Regions from separate parts of the Homo sapiens genome. Here region 2 is linked to region 1. The links are contacts of gene promoters, found by promoter capture Hi-C in human tissues and cell types (Jung and others, 2019). All regions are on one chromosome and are shown on one strand. The core of a region is centred on a gene start or on the middle of the fragment in contact, and the rest is flanking DNA. Distances in the headings are between cores, read along the strand shown.

The links. Contacts are between HindIII fragments. The study calls those that stand out against the background at their distance.
Region 2: the fragment with the promoter of ITGAM here is called in contact with the fragment with the promoter of ZNF267 in region 1 in 1 of the 25 tissues and cell types used here (hippocampus).

Annotation. Positions count from the first base shown.
Region 1 is chr16:31,872,318-31,875,373 of GRCh38, forward strand. It overlaps ZNF267 (zinc finger protein 267), which reads left to right and starts at 1,490. Exons shown (of 4, transcript NM_003414.6): 1 at 1,490-1,652. The coding sequence starts at 1,650. RefSeq lists an enhancer at 1,311-1,605 and silencers at 1,492-1,541, 1,692-1,771. The HindIII fragment of the contact is 15,903 bases long and covers 1-3,056 here.
Region 2 is chr16:31,258,510-31,261,697 of GRCh38, forward strand. ITGAM (integrin subunit alpha M) reads left to right here and starts at 1,466. Exons shown (of 30, transcript NM_000632.4): 1 at 1,466-1,583; 2 at 3,183-3,188. The coding sequence starts at 1,556. RefSeq lists an enhancer at 1,223-1,322. The HindIII fragment of the contact is 10,369 bases long and covers 1-3,188 here.

The sequences.
Region 1 (3,056 bases), core at 240-2,739:
CACCCGTTGTCTACACCTAATCTGGTGGCAGGGAGGCCACAGAGTGCAGCGACTAGAACTGGGTGAGAGGGTGAGAGGCAGCCATGCCCCAGGCCAAGACAAGTGCATGGAATCCTGACTGTCAGCAATCAGGGATGTTTCTGCTTTGGGGAGGGAAGCATTTGTTCCACACGTCTCACTGAATAAGGCACAGAGCCTGATCTGTCCCAAGTGGGAGTTTAACCAAGCTAGATGGCGGCCGAGGGCCCTGGCCCAGTTTGACACCCACCTCCTCTCCCACCTTCTACTCAGCCAGAAGACTAGGAGAATCTACTCAGCCGGAAGACTACGAGGTGCTGCAGCGCCACTAGCTCCAAGACTCCAGAAAAACAGGAATAGGGCATTCTGGCAGGTCAAAGCAGACAGAATACTTGAGCTCAGGAGTTGGCGAACTGACTATTAACCTGTAGCCCCAGTTACTTGGGAGGCTAAGGTGGGAGGATCGCTTGAGCTCAGGAGATGGAGACCAGCCTGGGCAACATGGTGAAACCTCATCTCTACAAAAAATACAAAAATCAGCCGGGCATGGTGGCATGTGCCTGTAGTCCCAGCTACTCAGGAGGCTGAGGTGGGAAGATTGCTTGAGCCCCGGAGGCTGCAGTGAGCCATGACTGCACCACTGCACCAGCCTGGGCAATAGAGTGAGACCCTGTCTCAAAACAAAAGCAAAAACCAGAGGTAGGGCTGAGGAGTCCGTGGCCACAGAGCCTGAGCCAGCACGGCCCAGAGGAACTGAGCTCCCAGCCCTGTCGCTGCCAAGGACCCTTCTTCCCTGAGCTTGAAGGGATTGAGAAGGAGAGACAGACGGACAGTCAGCGGCCCCGTTACCAGTGATGCAGACTCCAGGAGATGCGGGCAGAGTTGTAGATTAGAAGAATAGGCCAGCCCCTCTTCCACGTTCCACCACGGCCCGCAACATCCTCCTGGGACCCCAGCCTGCATGCCCCTATAAGATGCTTTTGCACTGGTTCAGTCTATGTATCATGCGAGGGCCTAATTGAAAACACGTGAATGAAGTGTACGGCCTTCTGTTCCCAGCTGAGGGGCCCCCTCCCACGGTGGCGTTAGCAGTGGGGTACAGTGCGGTAAGAGAGGTGCTAAGGGACGGGATGAGGGTCTTTCTTGCTTTAAAGGTGTCTAAATATACTTCTTCTTAAACTTAATTAGCTAATAAGATGTCTTATACAAGCAGAACCAGGTAAGGGAAAGAGCAAGTGTATTTCAAGTCGCAGCTCACCCCTTAATTAGCTGTAATACCCGCAGCAGGCGGCCCCACCTCAATGAGCCAGTCTCCCTTTCAAAAAAAAAAAAAAAAAAGGCACTAATAATGAGGGGGCGGGGCATGGAGCTTTATCCAATCAGGGGCGCTGGAGTGGAAACCGTCCAATCAGGAGTGAAGCCGGAGAGCAGGGGCGGCTTCCGGGATTTGGCGGGGGCCTTCGTCGGCTCCAGTTAGAGCTCGGGTCTCCTCGCCACAGCTCCGAGTCTTTCGTTCTGGGAGGCCCAGGCGGCTTCGCGTTCTGAGAATAAACAGAACCTCTGTTGCTCTGCGACTTGCAGGCACTGGGAGATTCGTAGCTAAGACGCCAGGGCATCCCGGAAGCTGGGAAATGGTGAGTGTGCGGGGTCGGGGGTCCCCAGAGGGAGGGAGGGCGGTGGTCGGAAGCGGCGGGAACCCGCTGTAGGGGCACCCGGGCCTCCCCGCAGTCAGCCTCGGGGTCTGGGCCCCGAGTCCCAACTGGTGCAGCTCGGCCCTCGGTCCCCTCCGCTGCAAGATGGCGGCCAGGCCGGCAGCCGGGACCCCGCGTGTCCTGTCCCATCCCGACCCCGCAGAGCGACCTCGTCCCTGGCCGGAGCCCTCTCTGGGCAGCTCCGCGTCGCAGCCCCGCGTCTCCCCCAGATTGTGCGGTGAGGACGGGAGCGTCTCAGGGGAGACCCAGGTTCGGTGTGTGGGAAGAAACCGTGCCCTGTGGGGTCCTCAGTCACTACTCCTCTTAAGAATTAAAGGGAGTCACTGTTAAAACGTTGAAGAATTTGAGCAAATAGCGATTTGTGACATGGGAAGCCTGCAGTCCTGGTTTGTGGTTCGGAGATCCCCAGAGGGGCTTGAAGGAAAGGTTTTTATAAGGTGCATGAGGAAGCAGACCAAATTAACCGATGGGTTACAGTTTGTAGTTGCCTTATTTAGACTATGCAGGTGGAGGTGAATTGGAGCTTTGTGGTTCGTTAAGTCTGAATTTTGTTTTCCCCTAAAGTTGTAATTTACAAGAAAAGCATTTGAGTTTGGTTTTGGTTTTTCTCCCTAGAAACCTGGGGCACTATAACCACTTCCGTATAATCGCCTGCTCATTAATCATCTTAACACTGCCCAGGGGAACTGGTTTTCCCCCTGCGCTTTCCTAACGTGTAGCACGCAGAGTCTCAAGTCCACCACTGTGTTCCCCCAGTCTAACTGGGCTTGCAATAAAATATTAAATTTCCAGTTCCTTCCCGACATTTCCAAAGGCCAACTTCCCCTCTCCAGTTCACATTCTTAACTATTGGTCATTTATTGTACATTTCAGACAGTATTTTACTCATTAATCATGATTTCACAGAGCAGTGGATGACACTTTTTTAAAGATTTGTGTTTTTTTGGCATACATTTCACGTGAGAGGAAAGCAGAGAATAAAAAATCCCTGACACTCCACTGCAAAAAAAACTGTGCCTCTTTTTCATTCATCTTCCCCAGGCACAGACACGTTATCGGAAAGAATGTCTTTTGACTTGAGGTTTTGCTTTGGAAACTTTACAGGGCCCTGTATAGCCACCCTCTATCCAGTCTTTTCCTGTTCCTGAATTTCAGAACTGTCTGGGATGACTCAAGATGCCCACAGTGGCCATGTCTCCTGGAGTGTTTAGTGACTGTCAGCCCCAGGTCACCTCCTGTTAGAGGACCGCCCAAGGTATGGAAATGTAGTCCCTCAGGGGAGCAGCTGGATGCCCTGGGGCTGAGAGAAATCTCCTGGGACACCCT
Region 2 (3,188 bases), core at 216-2,715, 610 kb before region 1:
GCTGGTTTCAATTGCTGACCTCAAGTGAGCCACCCCGCCTCAGCCTCCCAAAATGCTAGGATTACAGGCATGAGCCACCGCACCCAGCCAAGTTTGTACATATATTTTTGACTACACTTCTTAACTATTCTTAGGATAAATTACTAGAAGTGAAAATTCTTGGGTGAAGAGCTTGAGGCCTTTACACACACACACACACACACACACAAAAATAGGCTGGATGCAGTGGCTCACACCTGTAATCTCAGCAGTTTGGGAGGCTGAGGAAGGAGGATCACTTGAGTCCAGGAGGTTGAGAATAGCCTGAACAACATAGCAAGATCTTGTCTCTACAAAAAATTTAAAAAAAATTAGCTGGCCATGGCAGCATGTGCCTGTAGTACCAGCTACTCGGAAGGCTGAGGTAGGAGGATCGCTTGAGCCCAGGAGGTTGATTGAAGCTGCAGTGAGCTGTGATTACACCACTGCACTCCAGCCTGGGCAACAGAGCTAGACTCTGTCTCTAAAAAAAGCACAAAATAATATTTAAAAAGCACCAGGTATGCCTGTACTTGAGTTGTCTTTGTTGATGGCTACAAATGAGGACAGCTCTGGCTGAAGGGCGCTTCCATTTCCATGGGCTGAAGGAGGGACATTTTGCAAAGTGTGTTTTCAGGAAGACACAGAGTTTTACCTCCTACACTTGTTTGATCTGTATTAATGTTTGCTTATTTATTTATTTAATTTTTTTTTTGAGACAGAGTCTCACTCTGTCACCTGGGCTGGAGTGCAGTGGCATTATTGAGGCTCATTGCAGTCTCAGACTCCTGAGCTCAAACAATCCTCCTGCCTCAGCCTCTGGAGTAGCTAGGACTACAGGCATGTGCCACCATGCCTGGCTAATTTTTTAAATGTATTTTTTTGTAGAGTCGGGGTCTCCCTATGTTGCCCAGGCTGGAGTGCAGTGGTGTGATCCTAGCTCACTGCAGCCTGGACCTCGGGCTCAAGTAATTCTCACACCTCAGCCTGTCCAGTAGCAGGGGCTACAGGCGCGCACCACCATGCCCAGCTAATTAAAAATATTTTTTTGTAGAGACAGGGTCTCTCTATGTTGCCCAGGCTGGTTTCAAACTCCCAGGCTCAAGCAATCCTCCTGCCTTGGCCTCCCAAAGTGCTGGCATTACAGGCGTGAGCCACTGCGCCTGGCCCGTATTAATGTTTAGAACACGAATTCCAGGAGGCAGGCTAAGTCTGTTCAGCTTGTTCATATGCTTGGGCCAACCCAAGAAACAAGTGGGTGACAAATGGCACCTTTTGGATAGTGGTATTGACTTTGAAAGTTTGGGTCAGGAAGCTGGGGAGGAAGGGTGGGCAGGCTGTGGGCAGTCCTGGGCGGAAGACCAGGCAGGGCTATGTGCTCACTGAGCCTCCGCCCTCTTCCTTTGAATCTCTGATAGACTTCTGCCTCCTACTTCTCCTTTTCTGCCCTTCTTTGCTTTGGTGGCTTCCTTGTGGTTCCTCAGTGGTGCCTGCAACCCCTGGTTCACCTCCTTCCAGGTTCTGGCTCCTTCCAGCCATGGCTCTCAGAGTCCTTCTGTTAACAGGTGCATGGGGGTGGGGTGGGGGACTCTGGGTGGGGAGGAGGGTAACTTTTGGGTCTGTCATAAATAGAGGGCCCAGAATATGTAGGAGTCAGTCTGGGGAGAGGCAAAGGGGATTTGGGGAAGGAGAAAGGGTTCAAGAAGAAGCAGGGAGAACAGCTAGACCCAGACAGGCTGGCCAGGGAAGCCTGGATGAATGACCACATTCATGGACTGTGCAAGGCTGCTTGCCGGTCCCCTTGCTTCACACATGAGGAGACGGAGGCCCAGGGAGGAGAAGTGACATGGCTCAGGGTGCGCAGCAGGTGTGAGACCCCTTTCCTGAGTGCTTCCTCCTGGATCCCCTCTCACCATCTCCACTTTGCCTCCGGTTCTATTTTCCAAGGTCCCGGGTGCAAATGTTTGTTGAATGACTGATGAATGAAAATGATTTGAGTTTGTTACCTTTTATGCTTATATGTTGTGGAAAATGAAATTCTCCTCAAAAGGGAAGGAAATACTTGAGAGCTGCATAGGAAGGAAATTATCTAATTAAGAATGTATAGAAACTTCACTGTTGGGCAAATCATCGTTGTGACACCGGGGGAAGAAGCCATTTAGGTGCTCAGAAGGGAGGCTGGAATTCAGAGCAGGACTGGACGTGCCCCACGACGGTGGTTCTTAGGTCAGGAGTCAGCAAACAGTGGCCTGGGGGCCCGATATGGCCCACGACCTGTTTTTGCACAACCTGCCAGCTAGAGATTGAAGATGAACACTGATAATCGATTTGATGATAGGGAGCACCACCCCCAAAGAATTCTATTTGTCTCATTTGTAAACCCGTATTACAAACAAATTGTACTCAATCATTATGTTTGAAATTTCCCTAATGACAAATTTGTGGAAAAGTATTTTCTGTCTTGTTATATAAGTACTTGTACAACATATTCTATCAGCCTCTTGGTCTGCAAAACCTAAAATTTACTATCTGGCTGTTTACAGAATAAGTGTGCTAATCCCCGCCCCAGGCTAACAGAGCTGGACCTGGGAGGCAGACATCTGGATGCTGGGTTAGTTAGGGTGACCGAATGGATGGGAAAGGGAATGGAGCAGGAAGACATGCTGCTATCTTTTTTTTTTTTTTTTTTTTTTGATACAGGGTCTTTCTCTGTTGCCCAGGCTGTAGTGCAGTGGCATGATCATGGTTCACTGCAGCCTTGACCTCCTGGGTTCAAGCAATCCTCCCACCTCAGCCTCCTGAGTACCACTACACCCGGCTAATTTTTTATTTTTTGTAGAGATGGGGTCTCACTGTGTTGCCTAGGCTGGTCTTAAACTCCTGAGCCCAGGTGATCCTCCCACGTCAGCCTCTTAAATTATTGGGATAACAGGCCTGAGCCACCACACCCAGCCATTGCTTTCTTTTAAATTATTATTAGTTTTTGTTTTTTTTTTGTATTTAATTTTGAGATAGGATCTCTCTCTGTTGCTCAGGCTGGAGTGCAGTGGCACAATCAGGGCTCAAGTGATCCTCCTGCCTCAGCCCTCCAAAGTGCTAGGACTACAGCCCCTAACTGGCATGCTACTTTCCTCTGCTTGATCCTTCCCCCATTCTCCCTTTAGCCTTGA